Regions from separate parts of the Homo sapiens genome. Here region 1 is linked to region 2. Evidence: promoter capture Hi-C in 16 types of primary human blood cells and fetal thymus (Javierre and others, 2016). All regions are on one chromosome and are shown on one strand. The core of a region is centred on a gene start or on the middle of the fragment in contact, and the rest is flanking DNA. Distances in the headings are between cores, read along the strand shown. Region 1 holds the start of MRPS24 (mitochondrial ribosomal protein S24). Region 2 holds the start of CCM2 (CCM2 scaffold protein).

Region 1 (7,192 bases), core at 3,406-5,905, 1.1 Mb before region 2:
TAAACCTACAACCTTCAGTGTGGGTGTCATAGCCATCATGAGCATGTCACGGTGCTGCAGAGATTTTGTTTATGGCCAGTTTGGGGGCCAGTTTATGGCCAGATTTGGGGGCCTATTCCCAACAGAATATGGTTTGGCTGTGTCCCCACCCAAATCTCATCTTGAATTGTAGCTCCCATAATTCCCACGTTGTGGGAGGGACCCAGTGGGAGATAACTGAATCATGGGGGCAGTTTCCCCCATACTGTTCTCGTGGTAGTGAGTAAGTCACATGAGAGCTGATGGTTTTATAAGGGGAAAACTCTTTGGCTTGGTTATTATTCTCTCTTGCCTGCTGCTATGTAAGACATGCCTTTTGCCTTCCACCATGATTATGAGGCCTCCCCAGCCATGTGGAACTCTAAGTCCATTAAACCTCAGTCTCAGGTATGTCTTTATCAGCAGCGTGAAAATGGACTAACACGGTCATGGTAACAGTCAGGGTAGTGTTAGTATGTTCTGAGTCAGGGTCAGGTTCAGAGTGAAGTTCAAAGTGACCATCAGAGTCAAGGTCAGAGTCAGACTCAGAGTGAGACACATGACCAGGAAGGGTCTAGGTGAGAGTGAGGGTGAAGGTCAGCCTGTGTGTCAAGGTCAGGGTAAAGGTCAGCAACAGGGTCACGGTTAGAGTCAGGGCCATTATCAAGTTCAGGGTAAGGGTGTGTTGGGCTGAGGCTCAGGGTCAGGTTAAAGATATCAGAGACATGATCAAGATGAGAGTCAAGGTCAGGATCAGCAACCTCTGCCCTACTTCCTAGCACCAGGTGCTGGCTGTTGTGAATGCAACTTTCTGAAATGCTCTTCCTCCATTTATCTGCATGTCTTCCTCCTTCACGTGCTTGGACCATTTAATGCTGCCTCACGCTCCCTGCCCTTTCACTAGGATGTGAGTGTCACAAAGACAGTGATCTTGGAATGAAATGTTTTGCTCACTAATGGGTCCCAGGCAGTTAGAAGAGTGCTTGGGCCGGAGGAGGCACTCGATAAGAGTTTAGTATCGATGAGTGTGCATAAAAGTATTCCTTGAAAAAAGTACATCTGGGAATAAAATATAAAAGCTGTTCACAGTAGTTCTCTCTGGAGTGGAATTATAAGAAAGCTTCATGGTCAATTTGATATATGTTCATATTGTTTTTTTTTTTTTGAGATGGAGTCTTGCTCTGTCACCCAGGCTGGAGTGCAGTGGCGCGATCTCAGCTCACTGCAAGCTCCGCCTCTCGAGTTCGCACCATTCTCCTGCCTCAGCCTCCCGAATAGCTGGGACTACAGACGCCCGCCACCATGCCCAGCTAATTTTTTGTATTTTTAATAGAGACGGGGTTTCACCTTGTTAGCCAGGATGGTCTCAATCTCCTAACCTCGTGATCTGCCCATCTCGGCCTCCCAAAGTGCTGGGATTACAGGCGTGAGCCACCGTGCCCAGCCTGTTTTGATTCTTAAAAACTAACACTGAATGGGTCTTTCCATCTTGAGAAAAAACAAAGAACTTTTAGGCAAAGTGCTTGACAGAGTGATTGATTGGCACAGGTACTCACCAAACTGTAGCTATGAATTAAACTTCAAACAACTGGCGTCAGCCTTCCTGCAAACCCTGGAGCATCGTCAAAGAAACGCTACTCTAGTTCCCTCATCCAAGAGTAAAAACAGAGAGGCAAGACAAGATAGAAGGTCTTTATTCAATAGCAGATGAGAGACTATGCCTCAGTCCTCTGAGGGGATGCATTTCCCCCACATACCATTCCTTTCCCACGTTTCCATTCTCTGCAGGCTACAGCTTGATGGAAAAAAGGGGATTGTTCTAGAGGTACTTATACACAACCTTTGAGGGCACAGTTTGGAGGTGGAGTCGCACAGGACATTTGTAAAAGTAGGACAGCAAAGTTTCACTGTAGCCCACGAGGAAGTAGTACTTGTGTGGAGACAACTGCCTCAGGACCACGGCACAGATCTCCAACTGGTTACCCCGGCGCTTTAAAACCAGCTGGTCAGCCAGGCAGCCTGGGAAGGTACCCCACATGAACTTGCGAAGGAAAACATCCTCCACCGTTCGCTCTGCGGCATGGTCCTCTCCATCCAGGTTACCTGAAGAGGGAAGGGCATAATAGAAGAATCAGCCTCATTGCCCCAGGGCCCTGCCATAACTCCAGAGTCAACATCCAAAAGCGCTGAGCACAATCCCACCCTTCACCCCCAGCCTCTTCTCTTTTCTTCTGCTAATGGAATAAGAAAAATAACACTTTAAAGTTCAAAGTATGTTATGTCATTAATTCCCAAGCCAATTCAGTTTAGTAGGTATTATCATTATCCTTATTTTACAAAAAGGAAGATGGAGGCCTGAGTCAGGGTACAAAACTCAAGATGATGCCACCACATCTAGCCCCTTTCCTGCTTTCTTGGCTGCCTTATAAAAACACTGGTCATCCCATGGGCCAGAAAGATGAGGCTACCAGCTATTTTTGAGATTAGGGACATGAGCTAGGCCCAGGGCTTCCACCAGTGGGTTCCTCAGTGTGAACTGTGGATCCCCTGCAGCCCTTACAATGTCCACTAAGAGTCTGCACACCTACATCCAAACCTCAGACCAGAACCTGAAAGAGTGGGAGACAAGCATCTCTCTCTCTTTTTTTTTTTTTTTTTTTTTTTTTTTGAGATGGAGTCTCACTCTGTCGTCCAGGCTGGAGTGCAGTGGCGTGATCTCGGCTCACTGCAACCTCCGCCTCTTGGGTTCAAACAATTCTCTGCCTCAGCCTCCTGAATAGCTGGGATTGCAGGCGCCCGCCACTACGCCCAGCTAATTTTTTTGTATTTTTAGTAGAGATGGGGTTTCACCATCTTGGCCAGGTTGGTATTGAACTCCTGACCTCAGGATCCACCCTCCTCGGCCTCCCAAAGTGCTGGGATTACAGGCGTGAGCCACCGTGCCAGGCAAGCATCTGTATTTTAAGTAAGTTCTCTAGATGCATCTCAAACATCCAAGAACCCCTGTACTAAACAAAGCACAGTTGGTTATCAATTGTTCACAATAGTTATATTCTATAAAGTCACTGCCAACACTGACTTAGTGAATACTGAACCATTGCTCCTAGGTGAAATACAGGGTTAGATTCCTTTCAGCCTCTGGGCACCGTATTTTTGTTAACAAATCAATACATAACCTAGTTTCCTTTGTGTTTCTGTTTAAAGACACCTTGTTTAATATATATGGTAGATTCACTAACATTGAATTCAGGGCCAAGAGCAACTCATGACTGAAGAAAGATTCTCTAATACATGTATGTTCTCCCTAAGGCACGTCACAGCCTTCTCCCGCTTAGGAACACTAGATAGCACTTCAGCATTGCAAGGCCATTTTAAACAGCAAAATCACTAACAAAAAGCACGAAAATGCAAATTAAAAAAAAAAGATTCTAGACCATAAAAAGGACACCTTTTACAGTACGAGAGCTGAAACTAGGCAGAGCCTTGTCGACCTCAGCTCGGGACATGCACCTGGGGTGGCAGCTCCACCCACATCTCAGAGTGACCTTGAGAGTGCCCAGAGTGTTGATTTGGGGCTTACAAATAAATTTTAGTCAGTAGAAGAATCTGAAAATATGGAATTCATGAATAACGAGGGTTGTCTGTATATATTTACAGAGAAAAATTTGTGCTTTAGTGGAAAACTGCATTCCTTAGAGCACACTGTTCAGGGTTATCAGATTCTGCAACGGTTTCACTCCTTTCCTTGACTCTGAGCTATTTTACAGCTCTGTAAATTACAGATAACTGACAGGAATGCAAAATAATTCTTGTCTGTAGACATGCAAATAATTTCTGTTCAGTGGAGGATCAATTGAGTCCCTGCCTGCCATGGAAAAAGTCAGTTTTGCATCCATCTTCAAATTTGTTTCAACATCCTGATCTATATATATCTCTGCTTTTTTATGTCTCCCTTGAGTTGGTTTCATAGATTTCTGACCCTAGCATTATTTCCTGAGTTAAAGAAAACCTGTGACACGTGTTCATTTTGTTTACATGACAGTCGGATTGAGTGCTCCTTTTGGAGGCCTGGGGTCCGCTCACCTGTGTGCAGCGACAGCCAGCCTTTACGGTGGGCGATGTAGTGCGGCGCGTGTGCCTCCTCGTAGGTCACCGGCTTGTCCCCCTTGCTTACGCGTACTCGGGCCGCCCGGTTCTAGGAGCAAAAGGGGCCGTGACTCCACGAGATCCCCGATCCAGACCCCTACTTCGCGCCATGTCCCCCCAGTCAGCTGGCACTGTTCCCCGGCCCCAATCCCCTGATCCCTAAGCCCCGACCCTAGCCCCGCCTCGGACCCCAGCGACACGCCCCCTTCAGCCCGCACGGCTTCCCCGGCCCCCGGCCCCCCGGCCCCCAGGCCCCCAGGCCCCTGCCCCGGCGGTGCTCACCTTGGCGCAGACCGGGGAGGTGTGCAGGGCGCGCCAAGCGCAAGGCAGCTCTCGGCTCCAGGACAGCACCTGTGGAGGGAGGGCGCGTGAGGCGGAAACTAGGGACCCCACCTCCGACTCGCAGGGACCTGCCGAGTCGCCCCACTCACCCGTGGCCCCAGCAACCCGCTGCACACGGAGGCCGCCATCTTGGGCCAAGCGGAGCGCGGGACGTACCACAGCGCGCTGAGGGGTGGGGACGACCGCGGACGAGACCAAGTCGGAGCTCGTACTCTGTACTCTGGCGGGGGCGGGGCAGGGCCTCTGCGGGGCGGGGCCGCGGTATGCTGCTAGCTGTTACTCCCGCCTTCCCCGCAGCCCTGTGAATGCTCAGCCTTGTGAATGCTCATCCCGCCGCTGTTCGCTCTCCCGCGGTTGCTGCTTGCATAGGGTTTCAGATCCGGAAATTTGAGGATGCGAAACGTGAGATTTTCTCTTCGACAACCTCACGCTAGTACGGGTGATGGGTGTGCGGCCCACCGGAGCCCGCCCTGCCCAACCTGCACCCTCGGGGCTCGAAGAGGAGCCAAGCGTTTCCCCAGGTCCTAGTTATGCCTCCAAATAATATTCGTAGAAAAACAAAACAGAAAAACCCTCCAGACTTTTATCCACAAATAAAGAAGAAACATATTTTGGTTAAAACGTCACCCAATTCTTCAAGGATGACTTACGCAGTTATGCAAGAATGGGTTTGCCACATGTGACCACAGTGGTGACTGGCCCCTGAGGAAGGAAAATTTTAAGTACGGGGAAGGGGCCGGAGGGCAAGGAGATTCGTGAGAATATCGCAGGGCCTGTAATGCTGAAACCAGTGCGTCGCCACTATTATTGGTATCCAGTAATTATTAATGTCAAACGGAAAAATAGCAACGCGGGATATTTTATTTTAGAAGTCACCACGGTCATGGAAAAAACACGGGCTCTGGAGTCAGACCCATGTATAACAATCTTTGTACAGTTAAGACTCAGTTCTATTATCTATAAAATGGGCCTTAATAATAGTACTACCTTATAGAGCTATTAGGATCAAGAGAATATTTAATCAATGATGGGTTGTGTTTGGTTGAGTGATGTGAAATTGCCAATGTTTTGGCCGTTCTGGGTCTACATCATTCCCCTTAATGGTACAGTACTTGCATACTGCTGCGGTTTCCTGTCAGGGGGAGGACTGGATTATGATCCATGGGAAGGGGAAATGGAAGAACGGTGGAAATGAGTTGCCCATGACCACACTGAGAAGAGGGAAAGAGGGACCAAGACACAAGTCTCTTGACTTCAGTCCAGCCCATTTCCCATGACCAAGATTCCTCTGATTACATGAAGGTGGGTTCTCAAAAAACCCGTAATAAAAGGACAAGGTCTTCCATGTCCACTTCACCAGAAATGTTTTATTCTTACTTTTTAGGAACTGCGGCCCCCAACTGTTATGCATATTGAATAAAGGGACAGAACAGGGATGAGGTGCCCTCCAATGCATACTTTGCAAATGTAAGAACTTTCAACATTTCCTAAGAAATCCTTTTCAACTGACAATTATTTTTTAAAGTTTTCATAATGTTCAATAATTTTATAATTGTTAAGTTTCATTAATTTGCTCCAAGGTGGTGAGGAACATGGGATGTGGCATCTGAATTGCCTGAGTCCAAATCGTGGACCCAATGCTTCCTGGCTGTGTAATTTGGACAAGTGACTGAACCTTCTGAGCCTCGGTTTCTCTCATCTGTAAACTGGGGACAATAATGGTGGTTGTGAGAAGTACAGTATGATGTGCCTGGCAGAGGGAGAGAGCAGTTGTGGGTTTTGTTGTTGTTTTTAACGAGTCCCTGATAGCCACATATCCCGTTAGGGAGATGAGCCAGCTATTGAGGGTTCTGTGAGAACTCATAGCAACACCACCCTAATCAGAGGAAAGGGGAAGGAGAAAGGGAAACAAGATCCTTGGGCTGATCAGAGGCAGAGGTGGCAATGGCACAACACCTATTGGGGCCCAAGGTGGGCAGGGGCCACACCACGAAGGCTGTGGTTGGGAATCAAGTTTAGCCCATAAAGCAGTAGGCAATCAAATGATCAAATTTATGCTTTCCTCTATTCAAGCCATTCTCCCTTATGCCTGAGATCTCTCTCTGGAATTCCAAACCGATCTAGATCTTTCCAAGCATCACAATGGCCATTTCAGTGGCAGACATTTCTGGGGTTCAAATATCTTGTTATCTATCCTTTATTAGCTTTGTTTATACTGTGATTGGGGGAAAGGGGACGTGTCGGTCTTTACATGATTAAAATTACTTAAAATGACTTTTATACATCAGTATGAATGTTATATTGTTTTAAATAATCAGCAGAAAAATCTGACTGGGGATGTTTTATTTTTCTGTAACTTCCATTTGTTGTTGTTTTGATGCACTTTCCTTCTCCTATTAATTCCATAAAGGAGGCAGTATTTCCAGGCTTCACAGAGCAGAAGATGGAGGCTCACAGACTCACCTGAGGTTACAGAAGTAGTAAATGGTAGCAGGCCTTTTTGCTCCAAAGCATGTGCTCTTTCAGTATCACTTCCTGGGGGTGAGGGTTCAGACCATGTTAGGATCAGGGAATGGCCTGGGTTTCTGTGGCTTGCTGCAGACAGCTCCCAAGTGGCCCTCAAGGACTGCCTGGACATGGAAAGGCCAGGAGCATATGACCCCATGTGAAAGACCCATCTGCACCC
Region 2 (7,377 bases), core at 486-2,985:
CAGTTATCACCATCTGATCATTAGCCAGTGGACTTTTGCTTGAAGCATGAACCTGTGTATGCAAAGACAGGGCAAAGGTATTCTGATGGATAAGAACAGCCTGAGGAAGTCAGCACATCCAGAGTTAGGCTAAGAGAAGTTTTAGTAGTGTTGTTTACTGTATTATGGAGTGATAAATATGCATTTGTGGAAGACGGTGGAAGACTTTAAATATCAGGCCTTTGTTCTGTGAATGGTGGGAAAATAATGACAACCAGATGCGCTACATCATTTGCGTGTGTAAATGTGGCAAGCTGGATTATTGCAGAAGGCAGATTGAAAGGGTGTTTCCACTATCTCTGCTTTATCTTGCAGAGAATGGAATACTTATGCCTTTGGAGAGGTCTAGAGACCAAGTATTTCTTTTGAATATCAGTATAACATAGGCCCAGTCAGGAGACAGAAACACAGTAAAGAAAAGTTTAATATAAAGAATTATTAGGCCGGGCGCGGTGGCTCACGCCTGTAATCCCAGCACTTTGGGAGGCCGAGGTGGGCGGATCACCAGGTCAGGAGATCCAGACCATGGTGAAACCCCGTCTCTACTAAAAATACAAAAATTAGCCAGGTGTGGTGGCTGGCGCCTGTAGTCCCAGCTACTCGGGAGGCTGAGGCAGGAGAACGGCGTGAACCCGCGAGGCAGAGCTTGCAGTGAGCCGAGATCCACGCCACTGGCACTCCAGCCTGGGCGACAGAGCAAGGCTCCGTCTCAAAAAAAAAAAAAAACCACCAAAAAAACACAGTTTACATTCTAGCTGTGCTACAAAGTTCTTACCGGCAGATTGGTTTAGTGGCAAAATAGCAGACCTGCTGGTGACTCCAATTTGTAGTGTGCTTTTGGGCGAATCACCTCATTCCCCGGACCTCATCTGGAAAATGTGGAAATTATACCGGATGACTGGTAAGGTTCTACGATTTTATTCTGATAGGGTCTGCACATCCTTGTGGTTGCACTTCTATTTTCCAAATGTGTTTGTCTAAGGCAGGCAGACTTTATAACAGAGAAGTACTAGAAAACGGATTCCCTGTGGCTCAGGGAATAAAGTGGGACACAAGAAAAAAGAAAACCGCACCGCACCCAGACTCTCGGCGGGACGCCCCGCCCCTCAACAGTGGCCGCCTCCTCGCGCCCCTCCTTCGCCATCTGCCGGCCGCGTCCCCTCCCGCCGGCCCCCGTCCCCCGTCCCCCGCCCCCCGTCCCCTTTTCAGAGACCTGAGCTCCGCCTCCCTGGACGCGAGGCAGGCTGGGAAGTCGGCCGCCGTAAAGATGGCGGCAAATTGAAAAAGTTGGAGCTGCTCCCGCGCGCGCTCCCGCGCGCGCTGAGTGGGCGGAGCGAACAGGGGGCTGGACAGGTGCGTTCTCGCGGCCGTGCAGAAGCGAAGTAGGGGTAGGAGCGTTTCCGGCTCTCCTGAAGGACGCGGGGCGGGGTGGGGGTGGTGCAAGGCAGGCGCGTTCTCGGCCGTCCTGAAGGGGCAGGATCTTCAGCCTGTGGGCGGTGCTCTCGCCGTGAGCGGGGCCAACGGGCCGTGTTCTCCCTGAAGGGGCGGGGTCTGATCGCTGCGGGTCGGATTCCCTTGGGCCTGAAAGTGAGGATGAGCGACAACCGTGGGCGGGGCCTGCGCTGGGGAAGGTGGGGCCTGGGCGGGGCGGAGGGGGCTCGGGCCCGGAAGTGCGGGTGTGGGGCGCGGCCGGGGCGGAGACTTCGGGCCCGGCTGGCGGGCGGCGCCGGGAGCGCGGGGGCGGCGGGCCCGGGTCGAGCATGTAGCGGCTGCTGGCGGCGGGGCTCCCGGGGCGGGCCGGGCGGGCCGCGGGAGCCGCACGCGGCGATATGGAAGAGGAGGGCAAGAAGGGCAAGAAGGTGAGCGTGCGCGGGGGCGTCCTACTGCTGTGGTCGGCGGGCGGCTGGGTTGAGGGGCCAGGGTGGGGTGGGCGGGTGTTCCTTGGGGCCCGGGGGGGGGGGCAGTGGGCCAGCTGGCGGGGCGGGGCGGGGCAGGGCGAGACCCCGGACAATGGTCAGGTGGGCTTTCGCGGCCGGGCGGGCAGGAAGCGCCGCGCCTTTCCTCTGGCCCGGGCAGCGGCTCGCCCCGACCTCGGCCCCAGACGGCCTTCCCTGCGCGTCGGGACCTGGGGCTGCAGAGGAAGTGGGCCCGGCGAGGGGCCAGAAAGCTGTCCAGGGCTGGAACTGGAGCTAGTGGGCTGTGTGGTTAACGTGGAGACGTTTGCTGCTCACTGGACTTCGTTTTTGGATATCCAGTAAAAGCAAGGGTGGCCTTCACCTTATGGCCAGCTCACTCGTCCACTATCACTCAGACCTAAAACCATTGATTGATTTTAGTGACGCTAGCTACATTTGGCAGTGGGATTTAGGACATAGTTCATAGTCAAACCCCAGTTTATGTAGTTTTACAAAATGTGGCTTTAATTACAGTAAAGGGTTATAGTAGTCGATAAAGAAACATTTTAAGACTGGAAAAACGATGTGGATTGAACTACCATTAAAGTGGAAAATGGATTTTAATAAAATGTATCTTTTTCAAATAAATGCTTTATAATCTTCACGTCTTGGCTATCATTTTCTTTTTGATGTGTGTGTGCGCACTTTTATCCACAAGTTTAAAGCAGACCTCGATAATTCCTAACTATGATTTTACTACCCTGAACTCTGCAGGGAAGTGTCCTTTAATTGACAGCTACTCACCACCTTGTTTGACAGAGTGCCCCATTTAAAAGTCCTGTTTGAAATAGAATGTAGCCAGGTGGCCTTCAGGGAGTCCTGTGGTGCTGGTTCTCTACTTTCTCAACTCATTGTTTCATGTTAGCACCATGCATGTCTAATTTAGGTGCAGTATAATTTGCGGTTATCTACAAAGATGTTTTAAGTCTGGAAAATAGCTCAAGATAGTGATTCAGCCTGCAGGTGTTAGATTAGAGATGCGTGCTGCGCACAGAAGAGGGAGGAGCCAAGCAGTGTAAAAGGAGTTAGCTGGAAAGGAGAGGTGCTAACCCGGTGGCTGCTTAGTAGGGACCATCAGGCCCGAGTGTGGATGATGCTGAGCTTTGCGGAAAGTGAGCCATGTGCTCTGTGGAATGCCGGGATCCAAGAGCGCGCTAAGGACTGATGACCTCATTGTGCACCGCTTACAGGAGTACCTGGCCCATCTACCTGTGTGTGATAGGCAAGGATGGAATTGAGTGATTTTTTTTTCTAGAGCTGTCTATCAGCTTTGGTAGAAACATGAAACACCCAGCAAATAGGGAGAGAGAGAGAGAAGCAGTAAGACTGTTTTTGGGGTACAAGTGAAAAAACAGTAAAATTATCAAGAATTTTCCAGTTGGGTAATGAAAAAATTTAGGCATAAACAGGTTAATTATTAATTTCATTTTCTCACTAGAGGAGATAATCAGTTGTTATGTAGTTGCTTAAGCCAGGGGTTTTGTGTTTTTTCTGTATTCTGCCACTTGTCTTAGCTTGTTTCCTGTAGACAAGCCAGACAAGGAGCTTTGGGGCATGGATTCTTCTCCAGGTCATGACTTAACACTACCTCGTGTACTCTGCCAGTTGCAAGCTGGCAGAACCTTCCTGCTCAGCTACCACATTCAATGTGAGATCACCTCCAGTTTAATAACTTCGGTGGTTAAATCATTCTCATTAAGGTAAATTGCATTGCTCTAAACTTATACACAAATTCAGACATAAGTAGCAGAAGTGCTGACAATAGTTTTATGAAGGTACAGTTTGGACGCTTAAATTCTTCTAAGTTAGCTTCTTCAAAAAATGCAGAATTAGGCTGGGTATGGTAGCTACGCCTGTAATCCAGCACTTTGGGAGGCCAAGGCTCGATCACTTTAGCTCAGGAGTTCGAGACCAGCCTGGGCAACATGGCAAAACCCCATCTATACAAAAAATACAGAAATTAGCCAGGCGCGGCAGCGCTCGCCTATAGTCTCAGCTACTTGGGAGGCTGAGGCAGGAGGATCACCTGAGCTCAGGTGGGCCTTTTTTTTTTTTTTCTTTTTAATCTCAGACACTTGTCTTGGTGTCTGCCAAGCAGTGATTCAGGCTTTTTTTTACCTCGGCCCATTTTCCTCAGGACACAGGAATCAGTGAGTTGGCAGAGAACCTATGGACCAAAGTGAGTCTCACGGAAACTTGGCCCCAGTGTATCACTGCCCTTTCTCAAGTCACCTCAGCACATGTGGTGATGATGACTGTACACCTGGGTTTCCTCAAGTGGGCCATGGTTCGTTTAACAAATGTCTGTTGAGCCCCTCTTGTGTCCCATGAAACTCACTGGGTGATGGGGATACAGGAAGAGCTTGTGGCCCCCAGGAGCTGATGGGGAGATGGATCACTCATGGGTCCATCTGAAGGAATGAGTGCATTGACAGAAAAGTCCTCTGGCCACTAAAGGTGTGGGGCCTGGGGAGTAGAAGTGACCACTTGGGGCTGCTCTTCTGTCCTGATGTCTACAGAGTGTCTACTTTTTAGCCTACAAGTTCTGTTTTGGGGTTTGGAGAATAAGGCTCCTACCTACGGTATGGACTCATGTTCTGTGCATTGTGGCACTATGTAATTCCTTTTTTTTTGAGATAGAGTTTCGCTCTTGTTGCCCAGGCTGGAGTGCAATGGCACGATCTCAGCTCACTGCAACCTCCGCCTCCCGGGTTCAGGTGATTCTCTTGCCTCAGCCTCCCGAGTAGCTGGGATTACAGGCGTGTGCCATCATGCCCAGCTAATTTTTGTATTTTTAGTAGAGACGGGGTTTCTCCATGTTGGTCAGGCTAGTCTCAAACTCCGGATCTCAGGTGATCCACCCACCTTGGCCTCCCAAGGTGCTGGGTGGCTGAGCCACCGCACCTGACAGTAATTCCTTTTTATTAGAAACTTGGATGCACTTAAGTTGGGTTGTGTGGATTTTTATACTCAGATCACAGCCCAAAAAAGCTGTCTTGTCAGGGTTGGGTGTAGGTAATCCTAACACTTTGGGAGGCCGAAGCAGGCGGATCACTTGACACCAGGAGTTTGAGACCAGCCTGGCCAGCATGGTGAAACCCCGTCTCTACTAAAAATACAAAATTAGCTGGGCGTGGTGGCATGTGCCTATAATCCCAGTTAGGAGGCTGAGGCAGGAGAATCTCTTGAACCCGGGAGGTGGAGGTTGCAGTGAGCTGAGATCATGCCACTGTACTCCAGCCTGGGCAACAGGGCAAGACTCCATCTCCAAAAAAAAAAAAAAACCATCTTGTGGCCTTAACCTTGTGGGTCTCAGCTTCTCTGCTGCCTCTGGTCTTCGGTTGCCCCACCAGGTGGCTATGATTTCACACTGATCAAAGTTAAATATTTTTACATTCATCTAGTTTATTTGCATTGTTTAAGGTAGAAAAAGGTTATAGGTTGAGTGTAGTGGCTACGCCTGTAATCCCAGCACTTTGGGAGACTGAGGTGGGAGGATCACTTGAGCCTAGGAGTTTGAGATCAGCCTGGACAATGTAGTGAGACCCTATCTCTACAAAAAATAAGAAAATTAGCTGAGCATGGTGGTGCATGCCTGTAGTTCCAGCTACTTGGGATGCTGAGAAGGGAAGATCGCTTGAGCCCTGGAGGTCGAGGCTGCAGTGAGTGTGATTGTGCCACCACCTGAGTGACAGCAAGACCCTGTCTCAAGAAGAAAAAGAGAAAAAAAAGGTTATAAAGTTCCCTAGAAATGTAGGACTAGATATTAAATAATAAATAAGGAATTATTAATTTTGTTGGGTATGATAATTAAGTTCTGATCTGATAGGCATGTATTCTGAGATATTTGTAGGTGAAATAATATGATTTCTGGGATTTGCTTTACTCAAAATAGAAGAAACAAAGGGGATAGCTGAATGCTTTGGTAATGGTTATATATTGTTCTGTCTACTTTTATGTATTTTTGAGAATTTCCATAATAAAAAGTGGAGGGGAAAAGATCCTCTAGGTTACAGGCCCTGAACTATCAGCTGCTGTAGTCACTGCTGGACCAGTGTCTGTGAGGAACTGAAAGCTTGGATTGGACCAGTACCTTTTAAAATTTGGTCACTGCAGGCACCAGGAAGCCATACCTTCTCCATGCTGACCTGATGCAGACATAAATGTGTGTGTCTGTATAACCGAAGTGAAAGTTTAAAGGAACCACACTTAAACGCTCTGATTTTTTAATTCTATTTTTTTTTCTTTCTATTACAACTGGTGGTTGGCCAGGTGCGGTGGCTCACACTGGTAATCCCAGCACTTTGGGAGGCTGAGGTGGGTGGATCACCTGTCAGGAGTCTGAGACCAGCCATGGTGAAACCCCATCTCTACTAAAAATACAAAAATTAGCTGAGCGTGGTGGTGGGGCCTGTAATCCTAGCTACTTGTGAGGCTGAGGCAGGAGAATTGCTTGAACTCGGGAGATGGAGGTTGCAGTGAGCTGAGAATGTGCCATTGCGCTCCAGCCTGGGCGACAAGAGTAAGACTCCGTCTCAAAAAAAAAAAAAAGGCTCATGGTCATGACCCACTAAACCGATTCTATAACTGTCACAAGCCATACTTGGGTTCAGAAGGTGAATTGGGGCTGCTATATTTTGTTTTATTTTTCCTCTTGGGTAGCTATTGCAGTGATTCTTGGATGGCAACTTGGTAACTCAGGGTCAGGAGGCTGGAGAACCAGGCAGGAGGTGCTCAGCAGAGAACCTAAGGCAGCCAGTAGGTGAGGCCAGAATGATCGGCAACATAAGGCTGGTTACTTTTCTGTCTTGAAGAGTTACCATTTACATAGTATGTATTTGTTAATTTTCAACATATTGTCAGATTCTGTCATAATTTAGATTCAGAAAGCACATCAGAACCTTCCAGGGCTGCTCTGAGCATCCTTTCAGAGGAAGATAGTGTAAAGCAAAACGTTTCTCTTAGCAATATTATTGCAGTGAAGGGCTTCCCTGCAGACGAGAAGGGCGTCTGCAGTCTGCCCCACTGGGGCGCTTACTCTTGATCTTCCAGTTTTTTCATTTCCGTCAGCAGTGCCCCCTCCTTGTTGTCACTTTGCAGTGTAAGTAAATGGTCATGATTAAGTCCTATAAACCTAACTATTGAGCATTTAAATCACCCTCTATTGTTGGTTTACGTGGTGGCGATACAAGTTTTTAGTGAGATAACTTGGTCATGCCTTGCCTATTATGTGCTTAGCCCACTGAGAAGAGGGTTAGGGACATTGCACTTTGGAAAGTAGGTCACTTACACCTAAAATTAGAGACTAAAGGCAGACCTAGGATGTCAGAAGAGACATGGGGCAGGCAGCAGCCACTTCCAGCCAGGTTGAGACCGGGACTGT

Evidence for each region. The method cuts DNA at HindIII sites, captures the fragments that hold promoters and counts their contacts. A CHiCAGO score of 5 or more calls a contact.
Region 1: the fragment with the promoter of MRPS24 here is called in contact with the fragment with the promoter of CCM2 in region 2 in 1 of 17 cell types (neutrophils); the score reaches 6.7 in neutrophils.

The regions. Positions count from the first base shown.
Region 1 is chr7:43,864,862-43,872,053 of GRCh38, forward strand. It overlaps MRPS24 (mitochondrial ribosomal protein S24), which reads right to left and starts at 4,656. Exons shown (of 4, transcript NM_032014.3): 1 at 4,596-4,656; 2 at 4,447-4,515; 3 at 4,102-4,213; 4 at 1,697-2,121. The coding sequence starts at 4,634. The coding sequence ends at 1,838. It overlaps URGCP-MRPS24 (URGCP-MRPS24 readthrough), which reads right to left. Exons shown (of 7, transcript NM_001204871.2): 5 at 4,447-4,515; 6 at 4,102-4,213; 7 at 1,697-2,121. The coding sequence ends at 4,125. LOC124901620 (a long non-coding RNA gene) reads left to right here and starts at 4,785. Exons shown (of 2, transcript XR_007060296.1): 1 at 4,785-5,973; 2 at 6,087-6,781. RefSeq lists silencers at 4,368-4,427, 4,728-4,787, 7,055-7,192 and an enhancer at 5,018-5,137. The HindIII fragment of the contact is 8,402 bases long and covers 1,137-7,192 here.
Region 2 is chr7:44,998,466-45,005,842 of GRCh38, forward strand. CCM2 (CCM2 scaffold protein) reads left to right here and starts at 1,736. Exons shown (of 10, transcript NM_031443.4): 1 at 1,736-1,898. The coding sequence starts at 1,869. It overlaps LOC102723334 (a long non-coding RNA gene), which reads right to left and starts at 1,543. Exons shown (of 4, transcript XR_428139.4): 1 at 1,253-1,543; 2 at 815-908. RefSeq lists silencers at 1,003-1,052, 1,683-2,212. The HindIII fragment of the contact is 6,187 bases long and covers 1-6,067 here.